Linked DNA regions of Homo sapiens: region 2 is linked to region 1. The links are contacts of gene promoters, found by promoter capture Hi-C in human tissues and cell types (Jung and others, 2019). All regions are on one chromosome and are shown on one strand. Each heading gives the region's core, a stretch centred on a gene start or on the middle of the fragment in contact. The rest is flanking DNA. Distances are from core to core; before and after follow the strand shown. Region 1 holds the start of TNNT1 (troponin T1, slow skeletal type). Region 2 holds the start of ISOC2 (isochorismatase domain containing 2).

Region 1 (5,271 bases), core at 153-2,652:
GGGTCTGAGGGAGGAGGAGCTGGGGCCTGGACTCCTGGATCTAAGGGAGGAGAGGCTGGGAGTCTAGACTCCTGAGTCTGAGGGAGGAGCGGGCTGGGGGCCTGTACTCCTGCGTCTGAGGGAGGAGGGCTCAGGTCTGGACTCTTGGGTCTGAGGGAGGGGGCCGGCTGTCCTAAAGCATGCATGAGGACAGACCTTGGTAGGTGTGGTCCTGGCACAGCCAGGAGGCTGCAGACCCTGCCCCCTCAGCACAGCTGTCCTCTTTTGTCTTATGACAAGTCCATGGGAACCTGATCCAGTTGGGATTAGGAAGAGGCATTTGAGAAGGGACAGTGGCCTGAAGACAATAGCTGCCCCACCCCCAGGAGCTATTTTGGGGGGATGTCATAGATGGTGAAACCGAGGACATTTCCTAAGAAGGGATTTGAGGAAGGGGGGCTTCTGGGAGAATTAGTCACCCGCATCCCCTCTCCCACTCGCCCCACCCCACTGGCTGGTTTCCTCCCCACCTGTCTCCCCTTTCACCTTCCCATACATCACGTAGGGGGCAGGGGCATAAAGGGCACCTTCTGTCCGTAGACCTCACCCTGACCCCTACATTCTTAGACCTCAAAGTCTTTGAGACACCCTAGGCCACAGGGTGCCTAGCCCCAAATCCCAATACCCACAGATTCTGAGACCCCGATTTATGATGCCCGTGTTTCTGAGGCCAGCAAGTCCTCACAGCTCTGGATTCTGAAATCCCAGTTCTTGATAGTCCAGATATGGGCCGGGACATCCTAAGACCACCCCCAGGTCTTGAGACCTCCTAAAATCTGAAACCTCAAGAATATGAGACCCCCAAAATCTTGATACCCAAACTCGGAGGCCCAGTTCATGATACCCCAGATAATGGCACTCTAAGTTTTCATGCTTTCTATCATAATGTCTCAGATTCCGAGCCCTCCACTACCAAAACCCCAATTTCTTCTGAGACCCCCCCAATTCCTGATACCCTCAGAGTCTGAGGCCCCAAATCCTGACACCCAGATTGTTTGACCTCCAAGTCCAGATATCCCTGACTGCTGAGATTTCCCCCAGATTCCCAGAACCCCAAGATCCTAGGAGGTTTTATTCTGGGACATCCAAGTCCTGGCAGCCCCGGGTTAGGATTTGTGTAACCCACAAATCCTAGTATTTTCCCCTCTATCCTGAGTCCCCCTAAAGTCTGAGCCTCTCAAGTTCCCAGACCTCCAGTTGTATGCCCCACCTACCTCTGCACCATTTCTCCACACCCGACATCTTCCCCACCTGCCTCCTGCCCCCTCCCCCAAGGACATGGTTTTTGAAGACCACAGGGCTCCGCAGAGCCCCTTACCTAGGCTGTGTCTGAGATGCTGTGAATCTTGAGGCTGAGCCTTGCTGAGGGCACTGAAGCTCCGGGGAGTTTATAGCTGGAGGCTCGGGCCCGCCCCGAGGGGAGAGGGAGGGGGAGAGAATTCCTTTGCTCAAACACAAGCCTGGGAGTTCAGAGACAGCCCTGCTGCCCCTGGCTCCACACTCAGAGTCCAGAAGCCTCCGTGGGCCCCTCCCCAACCCCATGCCAACCCCATCTGCATGGCCCAGGAGCCCCGCCCCTGCTCCCACCCCACACCCCAGGCTCCCGTGGTGCTCCAACTACCTCCCTTATAGCTCCCTGTGCTTTGACGTCCCCATGCCCGGCACACAGTAGGTCCTTGGAGGACCTACTAATGACACATGGGCTATAAGGAATGTTTCCTGTTTTCTTCTCTCTGTTCCCTCTTTCTATCTAGGTCTCTTTCTGGACCCCCATTTCTGTTGTCTCTGTGGCTCTCCATCTGTGTGTCTCTGTGTGTCTGTCTCTACTTCTTAGTCTCCTCCTCTGTCTCTGTCCATCTTTTTGTCTCCTCCTCCCACCCCCACCCCTTTGTCTGCCGCCAGGATTCCATCCTGGTGACAACAGGCACTAAAGCCGGGAAGCAGGTGTGGGGAGGGGGAGGGGGAGGGTGGGGTGTCAATTAGGGTGAAACCTACCCTCCCTCCCCACCTCCATCTAACGCTGATCTTTTTTGGTATCCCCCTCCCGCTTCCCAGCCAAGCCATGACCTTGAGTTCTAGGTTCAAGCCAGCCCTGGAGAGCAGGCTTCCTCACCCTCCCCGCCTCTCCGTACCTCTGTCTCTGGTGGTCTCGGTCTTTGTGTTTCTGTGCATTTCTCGGGGCCCCTTGCTGGGTCTGTCTTGGGCTCTCTCTGCATCTGTCGCTTTCTGAGCCCCTCAGTGTGTTTCTCGGCATGTGTCTCCGGGTGGTTTTGTCTCTGCATTTCTGTGGGTGTCTCTGCATGTCTGCCCCTCTCAGCGTTTGTGTCTGTGGGGGCTCACAGTCTCTCTGTGCATTTCTGTCCACCTATGACCCCATTTCTGTCTCTTTTTGGCTCTGGGTCTCTGTGTCTGTGTTCACGTCTCTATCTTTCTAGTTCTCTCCATGTCTCTCTTAGTGCCCGCAGTTCCCCCTCTGTGGCTCTCCATTTCCATCTCTTATAGGGTCTCCATGTCTCTGCACCTTGCTGTGAGTATATCTCTGTCTCTCTTTTCTCCTTTCTTTGCACTTCCTTCTATGCATCTTGTGGTATTTTCTCCCTCTCTCTTTGGGTCTTTGCCTGGCTCCTACTCTCTCTACTCCCAACTCAGTCTCTCTGTTGTCGGTCATGTCTCTCTGCCTGTCTGTTTCTCTGTGTCTCTCTCTCTTTGACCTTTAGTCTTGGCATCTCTGTGCACTCCACATGGGCCAGAGGAGCTGTGACAATAGAGATCAGAAGACTGATGGAATGAACTGTTTGTGGCAATAAGATACCAAATTATAAACAAGACCTAAGGCCATGCCAGGCAAGGGTTAAGCCACGCATCCCTACACTTATATAATCGACTATGTTCCAACTGCCACAAGGCTTTTCCTTTTTCTAGCAGCTAAACAAGCACCGGCCTCAAGATAAGCAATATTACAACCATTGCAGCCATCCATTGCCAGATGCTGACTAGCTGAACCCCCTGTTCCACAAGGCATAACTACAGCATTAGTTGAACAAGAGACTGATTTCAGTAACTTTCTCCTGATAAGATGCCGCAGACCACGGACTGGTTCTGGCTGTTGACAGAGGCTGTGCACTGAGTGTCTTCATATCCCTGCTTCGTGTTTCGATACGAATGCATTCAATGGAATGCACTTAAATGTTAAGCCTCCACCACCAAGTGAAGGTGGGATGCATGTAAAATGTGTTTGCGGCCAGTCGCGGTGGCTCACGCCTGTAATCCCAGCACTTTGGGAGGCCAAGGAGGGCGGATCACGAGGTCAGGAAATCGAGACCAGCCTGGCCAACATGGTGAAACCCCGTCTCTACGAAAAACACAAAAATTAGCTGGGCGTGGTGGTGCATGCCTGTAATCCCAGCTACTGGAGAGGCTGAGGCAGGAGAATGGCTTGAACCCAGGACGCAGAGGTTGCAGTGAGCTGAGATCGTGCCACTGCACTCCAGCCTGGGTGACAGAGCAAGACTCCGTCTCAAAAAAAAAAAAAAATGAGTGTTTGCTTGTCACACATGCGTGTGTCCATGTGTCCACCTGTCCATGAATATTCATAGCTCCTTCTATAACCAGTTGAATACGTGCACTTAGCTAACCCACTCAGCATAAATTCCTGCCTTGCCCTTCCCTCCCTTAAAGTGCCTGCTTTTGTTTTTTGGCAAGAAGCCATGCTTCTGGTCTTCAGGTTGTGATCCGCTTCTTAAGAAACAAAGCTCCGCTCTCCAAATTCATGAACCCCGGGATTCTTTTCAATAACACAGCCAAGAGTGCTTCACATGGGAGACCCATCTGGTCCCCAACCTGCTGTGTGGCTTTGGGGGAGCCCCACCTGCAGTCTTCCCATCTGTCTCCTGCCTAAGCCCTGGGTAATAGACATGGAGTCACTTTCAGCTCAGAGAGAAGCTTTATTCCTCAGGGCCCTCCTCAGGGCAGGGGCAGTAGGCAGGAAGGCTCAGCTCTCAAACTTTTTCTTGCGGCCCTCCATTCCACTCAGTGCATCGATGTTCTTGCGCCAGTCTCCCACCTCCCGGTTTTCCTGGAGGATGGCGATGAGTCAGAGGTTAGGGTCTCTTCTTGGTCTCCAGTCTCTCAAGAATCCCTGTCTTCCCTCCAGCCTGTGGGGCCACTCTACCCTGGATGCCTAAGTATCTAGTTCTGGAGCACTTCCTGTCTTTTCAAGATAATCCCTGCCAATTTTCCCCATGCACTTCCTGTCTCCCTCATGCACTTCCTGTCCCCCTCATGCACTTCCTGTCTTTCCCCAGCACTTCCTGTCTCCCTCATGTACTTTCTGTCTTTCCCCATCCACTTCCTGTCTCCCTCATGCACTTCCTGTCTTTCCCCTCCACTTCCTGTCTCCTTCCTGCACTTCCTATCTTTCCCCTCCACTTCCTGTCTGCCTTATGCCCTTCCTGTCTCCTTCCTTCTCTTCTTATTATAGTAGTCCCTCCTTTTCTGCAATTTTACTTTGTGTGGTTTCAGTTACCTGAGGTAAACCATGGCCCAAAAATATTAAATGGAAAATTCCAGAAATAAACAATTCATAAGTTTGATGGATTCTCAGGTCAATAGTAGCCTAACGCCAGGTCATAATGCCTATGTCATCCACCTCACCTCATCTCAGCACATAGGCACTGTCATTTTACATCACAAGGAAAAGAAGGGTGATTACAGTGCTATAAGATATTTTGAGAAAGAGACCACATTCATGAGTTTTATTACAATCTGTTATAATTGTTCTATTTTATTATTATTATTATTTGAGACAGGGTCTGGCTGCCTCATCCAAGCTGGAGTGCAGTCGTGCAATCTCGGCTCACTGCAGCCTCAACTTCCTGGGCTCAAGCCATCCTCTCACCTCAGACTCCTGAGGAGCTGGGACCACAGGTGTGTGCCACCATGCCCAGCTAACTTTTGTTCTGTTTTGTTTTGTTTTGAGATGGAGTCTCCCAGTGTTGCCTGGGCTGGAGTGCAGTGGTGAGATCTCGGCTCACTGCAACCTCTGCCTCCCGGGTTCAAGCAATTCTCCTGCCTCAGCTTCACAAGTAGCTGGGATTACAGGCACCCACGACCACGCCCAGCAAATGTTTGTATTTTTACTACAGGTGGGGTTTCACTGTGTTGGCCAGGCTGGTCTCAAACTCCTGACCTCATGATCCGCCCGCCTTGGCCTCCCAAAGCGCTGGGATTACA
Region 2 (5,384 bases), core at 193-2,692, 310 kb after region 1:
TCCTCGCAGCCAGAAAAAATTACGAGGAAGCTCTTTAAGTAACAATACGAAAACATGTTTGAGAGAAGTGAAAAAGAAGCAGAACAGTGTGTATGGAATGCTCCTTTTTGTGCCAAAGAAAAAAGGGAGAGGAAAATGTGTCTGTGTTGCCTATATCTATATCTGCTATCTCTGGCAAACAAGCAAGAAACGGGAGACTCAGGCGGGTGAACCAGGCACCGGGGAAGTCTGTAGGAGCCTTTTCACTGGGTCCTATTCTGTTTCTTCTGAATTCTGGACAATGTGCAACAAGTTGTCTAGTCAATACTATATACAATAAAGGGTTGGCATAAAGCCAAAACCCGGCAAAACTGATCTATGGCGTCAGAAGCCAGGACAGTGACTGCCCTTGGACCACAGTGATGGAAACGACGACGGCGGGAGATCCTGGGATGTGGCGCATGTTTGACTTTTTTCTTTGGATACTTGTTTACACCAGGGTGCTCCCTTTATAAATATTTATTTAAGCTGTGTATTTGCAAACCGTTCGATTTTCTGCGTTTGTGGTATTATTCCAGAAAAAGTGTTCAAAATGCAAAATACAAAGATGGCTTCAGGCCCCCGCCGTGCGGTTGAACTGGAGGCAAAAGGCCAGAGAGCAGGAGGTCGGCGCTGGGGCCCAGTGGGACAGGGGAGAGTCAGGAAGGGGCAGCTGGGACGGTGGGGAAAGTCGGGGAGAAAGGCCCCCAGTTTCTGGTCGAGCGAGGGGCATGATCTGAAGATTCATAGGGGATCCCGGGGAGGGGAACTGGTTTTTGGGAGATGAAAAATTGGGGTGAGGGTGGGTGTGTGAGAGAGAGAGATGTGAAGGGGAGGTCTGGGCTGGAGAGGGTTGGGCGTGTCCTGCGGAACGAGGAGAGATTCAGCCTGGGTGGAGGGTACCCAAGGCCAAAGGGGGCGTGGCTGGAGGTGGGCGGCAACAGGGGGCGGGGTAGGGCCGTTGATTTCCCCACCCGGTCTCGGAAACCCGGCCTTGGAGCCCGGACTTCCTGGCTGTGTGACCTTGGGCAAGTTTCTCTTTGTCTTAGCCTCAGTTTTCTCGTCGGAGAAATGGGGATTAAACCTGCCCACCCCCCAGCGCTGTTACAGAGGCGGCAGGCGCGACCCGGGGACGCTTCCAATCTCTGGCCAGCCAATTCTGGCGGGGCCAGGTGGAGTCCTCCTTCTGGTCCTGTGACCTTGGCCCGGGACGCCCAGGCAGAGCCTCAGTTTCCCCATCTGCTAGGCGGTAAGGTCGGTCTCCAAATAGCGCCAGCAGCGAGAGAGGACTTACCCGGAAGGTGCCGGGTTCGAGCCCGGAACGGCCCCTCTGCAGGTGAGGCGGGGGCACCCTCACCTCTCGGCTCTCGGACGGCCACCGCTGAGGCCTCTTGCGGGCTTCCCAGGGCTGGTTACCGTTTCGTTAGGGCTGGACACGTGGCCCACCCCCTGCACCGTCCGTTTTCCGCCCACTTGGGCCCAGCCGTCCAATCGACACTCATCATGCTCTGCCTCGCCGCTCTCTCCGGCCAATCCGCATGTGCCACTGCCTCTGCCCGCAATCGGCGCTCACCAACTCACCCCGCCCCCTGCCTCTCAACCAATCCGCATATGCAGCTGCTTTGCTCCCGCCCCAGGGGGGGCGGTGCCGGCAAGGCTGTCAGTCTCAAGAAAATGATTAGCTCGCAAAGGCGCCGTGGGGGCGGGGCAGCAGGTCGTTCTGCCAATGGAGAGCCGTAGAGGGCGTGAGTGGCGGCCGACGGGGCGGAGTCGCGCGGTGGTCTCCGAAGGCTCAGACTCTGGCTGGAGAGAGGGCGTCTCGGCCGGCCCCATTGCACAGAGCAGACCGCCGAGGCCGGGAGAGAGAGAGAGGGGTCTTACCTAGAGTAGAGGCATGTCTGCGGTTCGAAACCTGGCCCTCTCTCAAGAAACGGAGGCTTACAAAGATACCCAAGCACTTTCCAGGAAGGGGCTGGCTGAGGGAGCGATCAAGTGAGGAATTTGACGCCCCCCTGTCCTTTGCGCTCTGTGCTGCCTCAGTTTCCCCATCTGTACAGCACCTGCCTCCTCGGGTGGTGTTTAGAATAATTTAGACTCTGTGCTTGGAAATGGAGGTTGAGAGAAAGAGAGAATTTCCTATCTGTCTTGGAATAAATCCAAACTCCTCCCAATTCATGGTCGGCCTTCCTGGTCCGTGCAGACCTCGCCTCTCACCACTCCCCCTGCTCACTCCGCTCCAGCCACAGGGGTCTCCTCTTGCTCTTCCCTCAATGTCCCACCGCAGGGCCTTTGCACGTGTGCTGCCTCAGCCTGGAATCCTAGGACTCCCCATGGCCCAACCTTCCAGGCTTTCAAAGCCTTTCCTGACCACCTGGTGTCAGGTAGCCCTTCCATCAGGTCGCTGTTTTTAATTTTTTTGAAACATCAAAAAAAAGAAAAAAATTGCTCTATCACCCAGGCTGGAGTACCATGGTACGATCACAGCTTGCTGCAGCCTCAACCTCCCGGGCTCAAGCGATCCTCCCACCTCAGCCTCCTGAGTAGCTGGGACCACAGGTATGCGCCACCACACCTGACTAATTTTTTAATTTTTTTGTAAAGATGGAGGTCTCACTCTGTTGCCCAGGCTGGTTTTGAACTCCTGGGCTCAAGTGATCCGCCTGCCTTGGCCTCCCAGAGTGCTGCGATTACAGGTGTGAGCCGCCGCACCCGGCCTTGTGTTTTATTTTCTTTTCAGCACTAACTCCAATCTGAATTGGAAATGAATCTTGCTTTTTGAAAAATGCATGGATATACTCTTTTATTGTCTGTTCCCCGCCAAAACACACACATGCACACAGAACAGGGAGCTCCCTGAGGCAGGGGTCCCGTCTGCCTCGTTCACAGCTGAATCCTCAAGTCCTAGACCTGGGCCTGGCCCATAGTAGGCGCTCGATACATCTTTGGGAATAAATGACAGGAGAGCAGACATTAGGCAGAGGTGAGCCTGGGTGAGAGTGAGGGGTGGATGCCCAGATGGGGCTAGGCAGAAGGAAGGGGGAAGGCAGGAAAGCAAGAAGAGGTGGAGGTGGGGCCCCTGGGCCCAGGAGGAGACCCCTGAGGCAGTGGTCTGAAGTGGGGGTCTGGGTTGGTTTATTTTCCCAGGGGCTGCCAGGAAGGGAGTGGACAGGTTGGGGGCTCCTGGAGAGGGCTGTAGAGCCGTCGTGGAGGGGCCTCTGGCTTGTCCTGGGTTCTGGGCTGGGTTGTGATTGGCCTCATGGGGAGCTGGTCCCCCAACCCTCGGGGATCCCCTGAGAATCCCAGGCACGAGGCACCTCCCAGCAGTCCACCCAACCCCAGTCGGGAGCCACGAGATCAGCCTCTTCCCCCAGGGCATGCTGGGGAAGGGGCAGGGGGCCGCAGAAATGTGGGACCTGCCTCAGGTCCAGCTGGCCCAGGTCGCGATGGGACAGACCCGGCGCTGGCAGGGGAGCATCAGAACCAGAGGAGGGGTCCCATGGCATTGAGGCACACTCTGGGGTGAGCGCAATGTTGTCAAAGAGGTCGAGGGTAGAGGTGTCCAGGGCAGCGAGACTCAGGCTGGCGCTGGCATGGGGAGCCTCAGTGGGGGCCACAGCACAGGCCACTCCCAGGAAGGGGGATGGAGGCGGTGGGGGTGGCTTTTGGAGCGAGGGTCTCTGGGGAGGTGCCTCCTGGGACAGGATGGAGAGGGCCAGGCGCTGGGTGGCAGCCTCAATCTTGGTGAACTGCCTGTAAAGACAGATGTGAGCAGGCTGGTCTCTAACGCCTGAACTCAAGCGATCCTCCTGCCTCGGCCTTTCAAGGTGCTGGGATTGCAGGCTTGAGCCACCACCCCCGGCCAGCATATTTGCAAGGGTCACCTATGTGGTCGCATCACACCGTGCTAGTTATTTATTTTGGTGATTCCTGACCGTCCGCCACCCCCATGAAAACACAACCTCCACGACAGCAAGGAACTTTATCTGCTTTGCTAACTGGCCTGGCACACAGTAGGCACTCAATAAATGCACGTTGACTGTTGCTGGCATCCAGCCCTGGGGGCTGCTCCTCTCTGTCTGTACCTGGTCTCCCCCAGCCAAGGGTGCTGGTTGCTCCTTCCCCTCTTCCCCGTCCCGTGCCCACCTTCCCCACCAGCCCCCTCACCTGCAGATCTGGTTGTGCAGAAACCTTCTGTGGTTGGGCCGCCTCTTGGGGGGCCGGGTGCGCCGGGGCTGCAGGGCCCGCAGCATGTGGGCGGCCGCCCCGCTCACAAAGGCACACAGCTCCCGGGGGCCGGGCTCGGAGACCCCAGGGCCTTCGGGGACCCCGGGGTGCATGGCCAGGGTGGTCTGGAGTAACTCCCCACAATATTGCTGACCAAAGCACCCCCCAAATCTGTGAGCAGGGAGGGGCAGGGGACTCTGGAGGCCCAGGCACCCCGGGCTGGGGAGGAGGCAGGGCTGGGAATTGGGCCAAGGCCTCCCCACTGTGCCCTAACCCTGTCCCCACCTCCCAGGAGCCCGACCTGAAGTCTGAGGGAGCGGCAGGTGGGGGCTAATATAGGAAGGCAGGGAACAGGGAGGGGAGGGGGCTTTCTGGGGCCCTCTAAGTGCCCAATTAGCGCATAGTTGGACCTGGGATATGGACCTGGCGTGCGTCGGCGGGGGGCAGAGAATGGTGCCTGGAGATGGCCAATTAAGGGAACAAAGGCCTCGTTCGGGAGGCGAGGCCGCCAGTAAGTCAAATGCAGCGATTGAGCGTGGAGGACCCTTAATTGGAGCCGTGGGGAGGGGGCTGGGAGGGAGGGGAGCTGGGCTGCATCTGCCCACCCACCCTCAGACACACCTGTGCCTCCCTCCCTCTGCTCAGCCCAGCACCTTAGGAGGGGAAACCGAGGCTCCCAAAGGGGCTGGTGCGGGCCGAGGTCTCCAGCCAGCAGGAGGGGTTGGCTCCTGGAGGGTCACCCCCGAAATCCTGGGGCTCATAGAATCCTGAGCAGCAGAGTGAGGGAGGAGAGGGGGAAGGGTGTGGCAGGACGGGAGGGGACGGGAGAACAGGGCGCAGTCTCCCCCAGGGTGTTTTATTGAGGCACTGGGACCCCTGGTGTCTGTGGGAGGCAGAGGTTGGGCCGGGTCCCCTTGTTTCTGGAAGGGTGTTGGCCGGAGCGGGGACCCTGGGTCTCAGGTTGGGTAGGGGAGCACCGGGTGTGACAGCCTCAGTCTCTGCTTGGACCCCCACCCTCGGGGGTCTGCTCTGGGAAGCCAGGATGTTTCCCGAAATTGATGTAACAAATGACCACGGCTCAGTACCTAGAACCGCACGCGCTGATTCTCCTGCCTGAAGCAGGGATTTAAACCTGACATCAT

Evidence for each region. The method cuts DNA at HindIII sites, captures the fragments that hold promoters and counts their contacts. A contact is called where the count stands out against the background at its distance.
Region 2: a contact is called between the fragment with the promoter of ISOC2 here and the fragment with the promoter of TNNT1 in region 1, in 3 of the 25 tissues and cell types used here (lymphoblastoid cells, mesenchymal stem cells and thymus).

Annotation. Positions count from the first base shown.
Region 1 is chr19:55,147,804-55,153,074 of GRCh38, forward strand. TNNT1 (troponin T1, slow skeletal type) reads right to left here and starts at 1,403. Exons shown (of 14, transcript NM_003283.6): 1 at 1,358-1,403. TNNI3 (troponin I3, cardiac type) reads right to left here. Exons shown (of 8, transcript NM_000363.5): 8 at 3,964-4,114. The coding sequence ends at 4,031. The HindIII fragment of the contact is 19,018 bases long and covers 1-5,271 here.
Region 2 is chr19:55,460,200-55,465,583 of GRCh38, forward strand. ISOC2 (isochorismatase domain containing 2) reads right to left here and starts at 1,443. Exons shown (of 6, transcript NM_001136201.2): 1 at 1,313-1,443. It overlaps C19orf85 (chromosome 19 open reading frame 85), which reads right to left and starts at 4,552. Exons shown (of 2, transcript NM_001386794.1): 1 at 4,183-4,552; 2 at 2,802-3,768. The coding sequence starts at 4,355. The coding sequence ends at 3,273. RefSeq lists enhancers at 2,828-3,550, 4,273-4,995. The HindIII fragment of the contact is 25,257 bases long and covers 1-5,384 here.